2 separate regions of the Homo sapiens genome follow, and region 2 is linked to region 1. The links are contacts of gene promoters, found by promoter capture Hi-C in blood cells and fetal thymus (Javierre and others, 2016). All regions are on one chromosome and are shown on one strand. The core of a region is centred on a gene start or on the middle of the fragment in contact, and the rest is flanking DNA. Distances in the headings are between cores, read along the strand shown.

Evidence for each region. Contacts are between HindIII fragments. The CHiCAGO score rates a contact against its expected background, and 5 or more counts as called.
Region 2: a contact is called between a fragment that was not itself captured here and the fragment with the promoter of EPRS1 in region 1, in 1 of 17 cell types (activated CD4 T cells). The highest score is 5.2, in activated CD4 T cells.

Annotation. Positions count from the first base shown.
Region 1 is chr1:220,042,589-220,048,231 of GRCh38, forward strand. EPRS1 (glutamyl-prolyl-tRNA synthetase 1) reads right to left here and starts at 3,917. Exons shown (of 32, transcript NM_004446.3): 1 at 3,755-3,917. The coding sequence starts at 3,800. RefSeq lists enhancers at 3,070-3,627, 3,669-3,998, 4,059-4,128. The HindIII fragment of the contact is 10,455 bases long and covers 1-5,643 here.
Region 2 is chr1:213,013,342-213,019,067 of GRCh38, forward strand. It overlaps ANGEL2 (angel homolog 2), which reads right to left and starts at 2,526. Exons shown (of 9, transcript NM_144567.5): 1 at 2,272-2,526; 2 at 1-77. The coding sequence starts at 2,330. RefSeq lists enhancers at 1,363-1,951, 1,952-2,539, 2,252-2,561. The HindIII fragment of the contact is 881 bases long and covers 3,973-4,853 here.

The DNA.
Region 1 (5,643 bases), core at 2,667-5,166:
AGCACACCCATACAATGAAATTTTATCCAGCAAATAAAAAAATGAACTACTGGCCGGGCGTGGTGGCTCATGCCTGTAATCCCAGCACTTTGGGAGGCTGAGGGGGGCGGATCATGAGGTCAAGAGATCGAGACCATCCTGGACAACATGGTGAAACTCCGTCTCTACTAAAAATACAAAAAATTAGCTGGGCGTGGTGGCATGCGCCTATAGTCCCAGCTACTCGGGAGGCTGAGGCAGGAGGATCACATGAAACTGGGAGGCAGAGGTTTCAGTGAGCCAAGATCGCACCACTGCACTCCAGCCTGGTGACAGGGTGAGACTCCATCTCAAAAAACAAACAAACAAAAAACAACATCAACAACAACAAAAGTAAACTACTGTCATAGACAAAAAGATATATGAATTTCAGAAGTATTATCCTAGGCACATATGAGAATATAAGAATATATATAATATGATTCAATGTATATGAAATTATAGAAAAAGCAAAAAAGTGACAAAAAGAAGATGAGTCGCTATTAGGTGCTAGGAGTAGGGAAAGGAATGACTGCAAAGGGGCGTGAGAGGACTTTCTGAAGTAATGGAAATACTCTACATGATGACTGTGGTGTAGATTACACACTTGTCACATTTGTCACATTGTACACATTTGTCAATCACTTAAAATTGGTGAACAATTGTATACAAGTTATAATTCAATAAAACTAATTTTTAAAAACAAAATAATTTTAAATAGAAAATGAAAATAATACAAATTGTAACTTCTTGAGTATTTTTGCTATGATTTTTTTAAATGGGAAAAAGAGAAAGCTCTCCTCACAGAAAAATGCCAACTAATACATACAGAAGGAATGGTAGAATGGGAAAGTCACTATCTCGCAAACATCATAAAATCATAAAAATCAAGTTAGGCAGGAAGTATCAATGGATACTGAAACTAGTGGGTGAAGATCTGATGCAAAGTGGAACATTTACATGATTCCAATGCATCTGCCCATTAAAATTAAGGTTAGAATAATCAGTAATGGGAAAATTAAATTCATGCACCAACTGATGGGCTGCAATGAAGAACAAGGAATAACTACGCTATTCCTGCCAAAAACAAAGAGCCTGAATCTAGACACCAGGAAATATCAGACAACTTAAACAGAGGATATTCTTCAAGTTAAGTGGCCTGTTATCTTCAGAAAGGTCAAAGCTATGAAAGCCAAGGGAAGACTAGGAAACCATTCCAGACTGAAAGAAACTGGAGAGAGGTGACAATCAGATGCAAACAAAGCATAATACGGGATTTTGATCTCAACACTATGGAGGGTCTGGTTGTAACAAATAATGATAGAACAAGGATGGGGTCTGTGCATTAGATGGAAGCATTGTATCCAAGTGTATTTCCTGATTTGGGTGCTTGTGTGAGATCACCTGGAGTTTCCAAGTTTGTTGGGGATGTACACTGGAGTTATGCTGAGATACTGAAGCCTCATATCTACAGTATGCTCTTGGGTGGTATGGGGGAAAAAGGTCTTTATTTTAAGTTTGAAATTAACATTAAATATATAACATGATGAATGCATACAAAATAGGAAAATTCTAGCAATGCAACTATTATTTTAAAATGTTTCATCTAATTATATTACTTAAAGATAAAATGTAATTGAATTAAACTGGGAATAATTAAATCAAAAATTAAAAAGGGAGAGGAGCAATTAGAAAAATGATATATTTGATAACTGGCATACAGTTCAAAATGACAAGAGTTTCACAGAATACTGGCAGAATTCTGAGTTCTGTAATACACTACAGAAACAGGCCACCTTCAGGGTGATTTTCTAAGTAACAAAAAATGTATCAGGAGGCTGGGCATGGTGGCTCACACCTGTGGTCCTGGCACTTTGGGAGGCCAAGGCGGGCGGACTGCTTGAGGTCAGGAGTTTGAGACCAGCCTGGCCAACATGGCAAAATGCTGTGTCTACTAAAAAATACAAAAATTAGGCGGGCATGGTGGTGCGCACCTCTAAGCGCAACTACTCGTGTGGCTGAGAACAAGAATTGCTTGATCCTGGGAGGCAGAGGTTGCAATGAGCTCGGTCTCCAAAAAAAAAAAAAAAAAAAAAAAAAAAAAAAACAGTATCAGGAGCTTTAACTATAGTCTCACTTAACTCTGGCAACCAATCCTATCTGGAAGACATTATTCTCCCTTTCTTAAAACAAGGAAACTATGGGAGAAGCTAAATAAGGAACTTGTCAAGGTTTCACAACTAGTAAGTGGCAGCCAGGATTGGACTCAGGTCTGCAGAAACCAAATGTCTTTGCTCTCAATCATGAAGGCACTCTAATGCCTTTCCAGCTCAGGAATCAAACCCATTCCTTTTAGAGTTCATTGATTTGTTGTGCGGTTAGTCCATTACTGCAACCAATATGCCAAAACATTACCATCTTTTAAATGTTTAAAATGGCTATTAAGTTGTGTTTTTGTTCAACAACCTTAAAACATCACCAAAGTTGAGAATATAATGAATAATTTCATCAGCCCCACGTGGTCAACTGTATATAAAGGTATGGGCTTCTTCAACATTAGAAAGTACTGTGTGTGTATTATCATACATATGCATTAACAAATATTAGGTCAGGCTGGGTACTGTGGCTCACGCCTGTAATCCTAGTACTTTGGGAGGCCAAGTCAGGATGGCTTGAGCCCAGGAGTTTGAGACCTGCCTGGGCAACACAGTGAAACGCCATCTTTCCAAAAAAGACACAAACACAAAATTAGCCAGGCATGGTGGCACGCGCCTGTAGTCCCAGCTACTAAGGAGGCTGAGGTGGGAGGATCATCTGAGCCCGGAAGTTCGATGCTGCAGTGAGCCTTGAAAGCGCCACTGCACTCCAGCCTGGACGATAGAGCAAGACCCTGACTCTCAAAAGAAAAAAAAAAATCGGCAAACTACTTAAATTCTTCTGTGTAATTTCCCAAAGTAATGAAAAAGCAGAAATTCTAAGCAATCTACCAACAATAATCTTGGTCATGTCGAAAAAATAATTCCAAACAGAACTTAAGATGTGTCAGTAAGGTGACAGATCCAATGTTTACTCTGAAATTTACTACACATCCACAGGGTGCAGTAAAAGCAACCGCATCAGTCTACAGTGTACCTGGGTGTTTTCCCCAATTACCCTACCACATTTAATTAAAAATAAATGCAGCCTCAGTTGAAATCCTAAATGCTAATATGCTCGTCTGGGTTATTTCTTCTGAACTCGATAAAACGTAAGGAAAATTTGACTCAAGTGAACTGAGGATTTCTCCTGAGAGGAGGGACAGGACAGGAAAGGAGGTAAGAAAAGGAGTTGGGGGAAAAATGCTAAAAGAGAAGCGACGACTATTGGATTTTAAGTTTTAAAATCTTATTTCCACGAGCAACTCTCGCTCTCCGGGGGAAAAAGGGAGAGGTGAGTTGACTGGGAGTTCATCCCTCTGAGAAAAAGATCCGAAGCGGAGTCTCGTGTTGTCTAGCCCGGGCTCACACTGCGCCTCCCTCCATGCCCGGGAAAACCATCTTCAGGAGCAGATGCACCTGCCGGGGACACGGGGCGAGGGGTGCGGAGCCTCCTCCACGTACAATTCTGGGGCGAGGGGCAGGTCCAACATCCCAGATGGTGACCACCACTGCGCAAAGCCGGGGCGCAGCGACCTTCCACGCCCTGCACCCTCCCTGGCTGATGCAACCCACACAGGTCATTGGTCTCGGCCCCTTACCTAGCGGAGGGTCTCCTGAATTCACGGTCAGAGAGAGCGTCGCCATCTCCACCAGTCCGCTGGTCCACCTGTCAGTACGCCTGGCTCGTGCCAGAACTACGGAGGACCCCGCGAAAGGAAGAAGATGCAACGTGTGCGCGTACCCGACGCCGCCGCAGCCTTCGCTCCGCCCCTGCGCCGCAGCTACTGCCGACACCGCGCACGCCGCGGTGCGACATCGTCGCGCGCCGTCTTCGTCCCCGCCCGCAGGTTCCAGAGCCTGCTACCCCTCCTCTTGGCCGCCAGGGTTAGAACGGCCTGCGTGGCCTTTCGTGCTGCGGTGGGAAAGACGCTGAAGTGGACGGGACTTTACGACACTTCGTCAAGTCAGCAGGTCGTAAAACAGCAGGTTGTAAAACCATCTTTAAGATGGGATAGGCGTTTATGTGAAGCACGAAACAAAAGCATGCACTGTCTTTATGTAAAAAGAAAAGTCCTGGAAGCATACACACGATAGCCATGATTACGTTGGGAATGGGAGAAGTTTTTCTCGTTGTTTATTTTATACATTCCCCCCCGTTTTTTTTTTTCCAAAACAAGAACGTATTTTCAAGAGTTATTTGCGTGTTGAAAATAATGGTTAAAGGAAATATAAAAGACTCTTTAAAAATCACTGCAGGCCGGGCGTGGTGGCTCACGCCTGTAATCTCAGCACTTTAGAAGGTGTAGGCGGGCGGATCACCTGAGGTCAGGAGTTCGAGACCAGTCTGGCCAGCATGGTGAAACCCCATCTCTACTAAAAATACAAAAATTAGCCTGGCATGGTGGTGGGCCCCTGTAATCCCAGCTACTTGGGAGGCTGAGGCAGGAGAATCGCTTGAACCTGGGAGGTGGAGGTTGCAGTGAGCCGAGATCGTGCTACTGCATCCAGCCTGGGCGACAGAGTGAGACTCCTTCTCGAAAAGAAAAAAAAAAAAAATCACAGCAGAGGCCGGGCGCGGTGGCTCAGGCCTGTAATCCCAGCACTTTGGGAGGCCGGAGGCGAGCGGATCTCGAGGTCAGGAGTTGGAGACCAGCTTCACCAACATGGTGAAACTGTAGAGACGGGGGTCTCTACTAAAAGTACAAAAATTAGCCGGGAATGGTAGCGCGCACCTTTAATCCTAGCTACTTGGGGAGCTGAGGCAGGAGAATCGCTTGAACCCGGGAGGAGGAGGTTGCGGTGAGCCGAGATCGCGGCACTGCACTCCAGCCTGGGCGACAGACTGAGACCCCGTTTCAAAACAAACAAAAAATCACTGCAGATAGGCGCAGTGGCGCGCTCCTGTAGTCTCAGCTATTAAGAAGGCTGAGGCAGGATCGCCTGAGCCCAGGAAGATGAGGCTGTAGTGGCCTCGCCGTGGACTTGCCTGTGAGTAGCCACTACCCTCCAGCCTGGCCGACACAGGGAGAGACCTGATCTAAAAAACAAAACAAAAAAACCCTCCGATGCCGCCCCCAATCATGGAGTCCACAGGTGTTTTTTTCAGCGTCTCATCTGATTCTCCCTTTCAAATCCTTTGTGACGGACGTGCATGCATGAGCTCCAGAGATACTCCAAGGTGTATACACACATTCGTGTGTGTGAGCTGCACCCATATTTCAAGGGCTGGTGTTAAAGTACGGGGACCCGGGATGGATTCCAAGAACCATCTCAACCACATCCTCGCCTACACTTTTTCTTAACCTCCCCAAGACATCCTTGTTTTCATTAGGGAGGGCCCCTTAGATTACATCTCCCATGAGACTTGAGGCCAGGCGCGGTGGCTCATGCCTGTAATCCCAGCACTTTGGGAAGCTGAGGCGGGCGGATCACCTAAGGTCGAGAGTTTGAGACCAGCCAAGCCAACATGGAGAAACCCCATCTCTAG
Region 2 (5,726 bases), core at 3,163-5,662, 7.0 Mb before region 1:
AACACCTTTGCAGATTCTCCCACGGTGTAGTCCAGTCTCTGCCCAGACTCCTCGAGTGATGGGGAAACATGGGGTATCTAAAAGAAATAAATACACTCCTTGAGGCACCACTTTTTGTTCAGCTATAGTTTACAAAATCTAAGCCTGTTTCCTCAAGGGAAGGTAATGTCTAATATTTAAAATCTGGCTGCTAAATCTGTGAAGGATGAAGAGGAAAGCACCCATGATTTACCTATTGGCATCAATATCTCAATACTCTCGTCCTAAAAAACCATGAATGGTATTCTGAATACTTAACACAGAATGCCTCCCAGGCTCCCAAAATACCACATACCCCTGAAAATGTACATAGTTCAACTGAGAGATGAATCAACTATCAAAATGATATTCAGAGTAGCTTTCAAGCACCTACAAAACTCAATGAGAAAATAAAATACACAACAAGTATTATACTGAAATCGAATAAGGAACTCATATCACACTACAATTAAAGTAAACCTCTCCTCCAACTTGGAGTAATAACAAGTTTCTGAACAGTTTTTTATACCAAGGGCAGATTTTTCCAAACACTTGTATAGTTAGGAAAACAAAAGCCTATCCACAACTTCATAAATTCACAAAACTACTTCTCTTACTAATCAACGGGTGGATAATTTATTTCTCCATTCTTTTTTAAGCATGATTCTCGTTGGGGGAAATGAAAGAGGATGGGGATGACGTACTACGAATGCACCAACACTCCAAACCAACAGCTTCAATTTAACCCATCATCCAAAACATCTCCAAAGTGGCGCTAACATTTTTAATAGGTATGTTGCTCTCAGGCTCTCAAGAAACACTTCAGCTTAATAAAGCACCATGTTCCTCTCACTATACTACTTTGGCAAAATGTTAAGATTCAGAGAAGGACTTTTATCCTTTCCTCCAAAATTCTTAACAGCTACATTTCTACCACAGCATCAATAATGTGCGCTCCCATCCCTAAGGGAATTTTGTTTAAGTTGCGTTTACTGTTATTTAACTTTATACGCTGTTATTCTCGTTTTAACAGCATTTAAATTTTTATTATAATTTTTACAGTTTAAGTATTCGCTAGTTGTTCTCTAAAATCTACTTAATTGTAAATCTTTAAAGGCATAACATGGGCATTCTACACTGCTTTGTGATAACTCTGAAAGCCATAGGAATTTGGGCACTTGGTCCATGCATTTTCTATGCTAATAAGCCACTGTATTGAAATATAATACTTGTACTACAAAAGCTATTATCTATATTTGCAGTTATTTATTCAGACTTTTTTTTCTCTTAAGATGTTAAGCTCCTTCAGGGCCAGAACAGAACCGTCTTATTCATTTTAATTCCGTTATCTTCACAAGTGCCTAGCACAGTGCCTGGCAAACAGCTGGTACTCAGGAAACATTGTTGAACTGAATTACCATCAAGTCCCAGGCCTATGGGAGTTACAACCAAATCCCCATCGCTTATGTAATAATACATGCTGTGTTTCCCAAGCGTGGTGGGTGGTACACGAGTCGGTTTCACAGAGTACACAGTTAAATTACTTGATTGTAATTTCTAAATACTTATGTTAGTTTATTAGGAAAAAACATAATCGCACATCAAATCCAAGACTCTGCAGACACTGCTTAGGGTGAAGCTAATGTGGGCAGCACCTACTGAAGTGCTTTTTAAAAAAAACTGAGTCAATTTAAAGAAAAATATCCAGTAAATAATACACGTGAAACAAGAACTTGGCCATAACAGTAAGGGATGACATACAAGTGACTAAAGTTTGAAAGACACTAACACATCAACAAAAATCAAGCCCCTCCTGGGCGTGTGCCACACACGCGCCTCCAAGGGATCAGGCCCGCCGAGACCTACTGCGGAGAGGCGGCCTCCCCGCCGACGCTCGGTTCCCGGGACGGTGCTGCGGAGTGTGTGGAGCAGGCCAGCGCTGGTCTGGAGGCTGGGTTGGGGGAAGCAGGCCAGGGATCCAAAGCCACTGGCACAAGCCTGGCCGGCGGCCCATGAACTCCGCGCCAAGACCCCAGACCTCGTTGGCCCAGCGTCCCGCCAGCTGCGCGGCGGGTTTACCTATCCCGCTTGGTCTCTGGAGGCTCGTCCCGGATGCACCATCGCCCAGACCCTCTTCCTCTTCCTTCCACCCCTAGCCCGCCCCGCCCCGCCCCGGGTTAGTCCCGGACGCCCGCCCGCTCTTTCAGGCCGCCCGCCCCTCTCTCCTCCCTCCGAGTACCCAGCCCTACTGACCGGCCTCTTCCCACCACACAGTGGCCGTAGCCCTTCCTCACACAGCGCCAGGCTTCCATCTTCGCCCTCCGCGTGCGTCCAGTTCCCAGGCCCCGGGTTCCACCTCAATCTCTATAATCGATGCGACGGCCTAAAGTATCTAGGGAACCCCATCACTCTTAAGTACCGACTCCAGTCCTGGCTGCAAGGCATGCTGGGAGGTGCAGTCTCGCCGGCCGGCCTACACTCCATCTTGCGCAGTCAGAGTCCCTGAATGCCTTAACCCGGAATTCTGCTCAAGGAGCATGCGCAGAGCGTGGGACGCGCGTGCAACCATTTCTGAAGAGGGCAAAACACCCGAACTTCGTCTTAAAGAAACAGAAATAAACTTTCTTTTTTTTCTTTTTCTTTCTTTCTTTCTTTTTTTTTTTTTGAGATGGAGTTTCGCTCTTGTCGCCCAGGCTGTAGTGCAATGGCACGATCTCGGCTCACTGCAACCTCCACCTCCCGGGTTCAAGCGATTCTCCTGCCTCAGCCTGCCAAGTAGCTGGGATTACAGGCATGAGCCACCACACCCGGCTAATTTTTGAATTTTTAGTAGAGACAGGGTTGCACCATGTTGGCCAGGCTGGTTTCGAACTCCTGACCTCAAGTGATTCGCCCGCCTCGGCCTCCCAAAGTGCTGGGATTACAGGAGTGAGCTACCGCGCCCGGCAGAAATAAACAGAGCAGTGAAAATTTTTAATTGCCCAAAGTGCAGATTCCCAGCTGAGGCTGAACAACGCATCCTCTGGGTGCCCATGGAACTGAGGTACCACAGAATTTTGCAATTAATGTTGCGGAAGCACAGCCATAGCTCTCACTTTAAAATGTACGTGTATGGGCCGGGCGCGGTGGCTCACGCCTGTAATCCCAGCACTCTGGGAGGCCAAGGCGGGCGGATCACGAGGTCAGGAGATCGAGACCATCCTGGCTAACACGGTGAAACCCCGTCTCTACTAAACATACAAAGAATTAGCCGGGCGTGGTGGCGGGCGCCTGTGGTCCCAGCTACTCGGGAGCCTGAGGCAGGAGAATGGCGTGAACCTGGGAGGCAGAGCTTGCAGTGAGCAGAGATCGAGCCACTGCACTCCAGCCTGGGCGACAGAGCGAGACTCCGTCTCAAAAAAAAAAAAAAAAAAAAAAAAAGTACTTGTATGTCTTGTGTGTCCACCTTTATTAAATGTATTATAGGACTGTAGATTGTTGAAAGACATTATTTAAGTGGAGACCCTGCAAGAAACAGGAAGAGAGAAACCGAGAAAGAATAAAGTGTGGAGAGTAGAGGGGAAAAGGATACTAGAAGGCAGGAGCACTGCTTTTATAGGCTCTTTGAAACAGTGGTAATTTCTTGGGAAGGCTTTTCTTATCCCTGGTGCATAAAAGGAAGTAAAGTGTATTTGAAAAAAACCTTTCCCTCAGTATGTAATTGATTCTTGTTATTTGCAGTAGTTAGGTTCTGTAAAGTTGCTGGAAACACTGAATTAGTAAATACTGAATCATTACTCCTAAGGGAAATACAGGATTAGGATCCTGTAAGCCTCTGGTCGCATTTTCATCAACTTAATCAATACATAGTTTTGTTGTATGTGTGTTTCCGCTTAAAGACATCTTATTTAATATATATTGTTGATTCATTAACATTGAACTCAGTCAACAGCACTATAATTCATACCTCAACAAAGCTTATCTAACACTGCTATTTTCTCTGCAAGGCTCATGACAGCCTTCTTGTGCTTAGGAGCACTATACAGCACAACGCTTGGGGACCATTTTAAACAGCAACATCAACAAAAAGTACAAAAACGTGAAAAACATATCACTAAATGGAATGTGAAAAGGACACTTGGTCCTGATGGCTCACGCCTGTAATCCCAGCAATATGGGAGGCCAAGGCGGCTGGATCGCTTCAGCCAGGGAGTTCAAGACCACACTGGACAACATGGCGAAACCCCGTCCCTACAAAAAATACAAAAATTAGCCGGGCATGGTGGCTCTCGTCTGTAGTCCCAGCTACTCCAGAATTTGAGGTGAAAGGATTACTTTAGCCCGAGAGGGCGAGGCTGCAGTGAACCAAGATAGTGTCACTGTACTCCAGCCCTGGCAACAAGGGGACACTATGGTATAGCATGAGAGCTGAAACAAAAAGGCAGAGAATGCCTTGTTTAGCCTCAGCTGGGAATGTGCACTTTGGGCAATTAAAAATTTTCCCTGCTCTGTACATGTCCAAGAATACATGGAGGTTACAGATCAATTTTAGCAAGTAGGCAAATTTGCAAATATGGAATCCACAAATAATGGAGAAAGACTGTATTTCTGTTTTATACTGCCCTATTTTCTAGTTGTACTCACAATTTTGTAGTTCATTAAATTGACTAGTAGTTTACTGTATGTCTTGTCTTTATAATGAGATTGTAAATAACTTCTGAGGAAAGACCATGACTCATTATTTCCAAAATTTACTTGACCTAGTGCTGTGCTAAGTACACAATATATAGTAGTAAAAATATTTTTGAATGAATGGTTAACAGTGGGCCAGAACTTGGGACTTGTGAATGACCAGAAGCTTTTTCCTTTAGCACACCCTAAGAGGTAAGGAGAAATGTAACATTTTTAAATAAGTAAAAGAAATTAATAGATATCTTTTCATGCAGTGTTGGAATTTGGGGGTTTATCTGATCCTAAAAGATATTTGCCTTTATCTGGGCCTAGACTATTGCAAAGATTAAAGTTAACTTGCAGGGCGCTTGTGGCAGTGCAAATGATTTTTGTCTATGGACTTGTAAAATAATTCTACCTAGTTGGGGGGAGAACTCTCCATCTCTATGGAAAAGCCAGTTTTGGCTGCCTGCAGTGGCTCACACCTGTAATCCTAGCACTTTGAAAGGCTGAGGCGGGAGGATCACGAGGTCAGAAGTTCGAGACCAGCCTGACCAACATGGTGAAATCCGTTCTCTACTAAAAATACAAAAATTAGCAGGTGTGGTGGCATGCCTGTAATCTCAGCTACTCAGGAGGCTGAGGCAGGAGAATCGCTTGAACCTGGGAGATGGAGGTTGTAGTGAGCCGAGATCGCGCCACTGCACTCCAGCCTGGGCGACACAGCGAGACTCCATCGCAAATAATAATAATAATAATAATAATAATAATAATAAATTAAACAACAACAACAACAAAAAAGCCAGTTTTGCACCATTTGCAAGATCAATATTTCTGATCTATAAACATGTCTGCTCTTTGGATTCTCCTTTGAACAGGTGATAACATCTGTCTGGTTCACCTATGTAATGAGTTAAATAAAATGGCTGGGTGCAGGGGCTCACGCCTGTAATCCCAGCACTTTGGAAGGCCAAGGCAGGCGGATCACTTGAGGTTAGGAGTTCAAGACTAGCCTGGCCAACATGGTGAAACCCCGTCTCTACTAAAAATAGACAAAA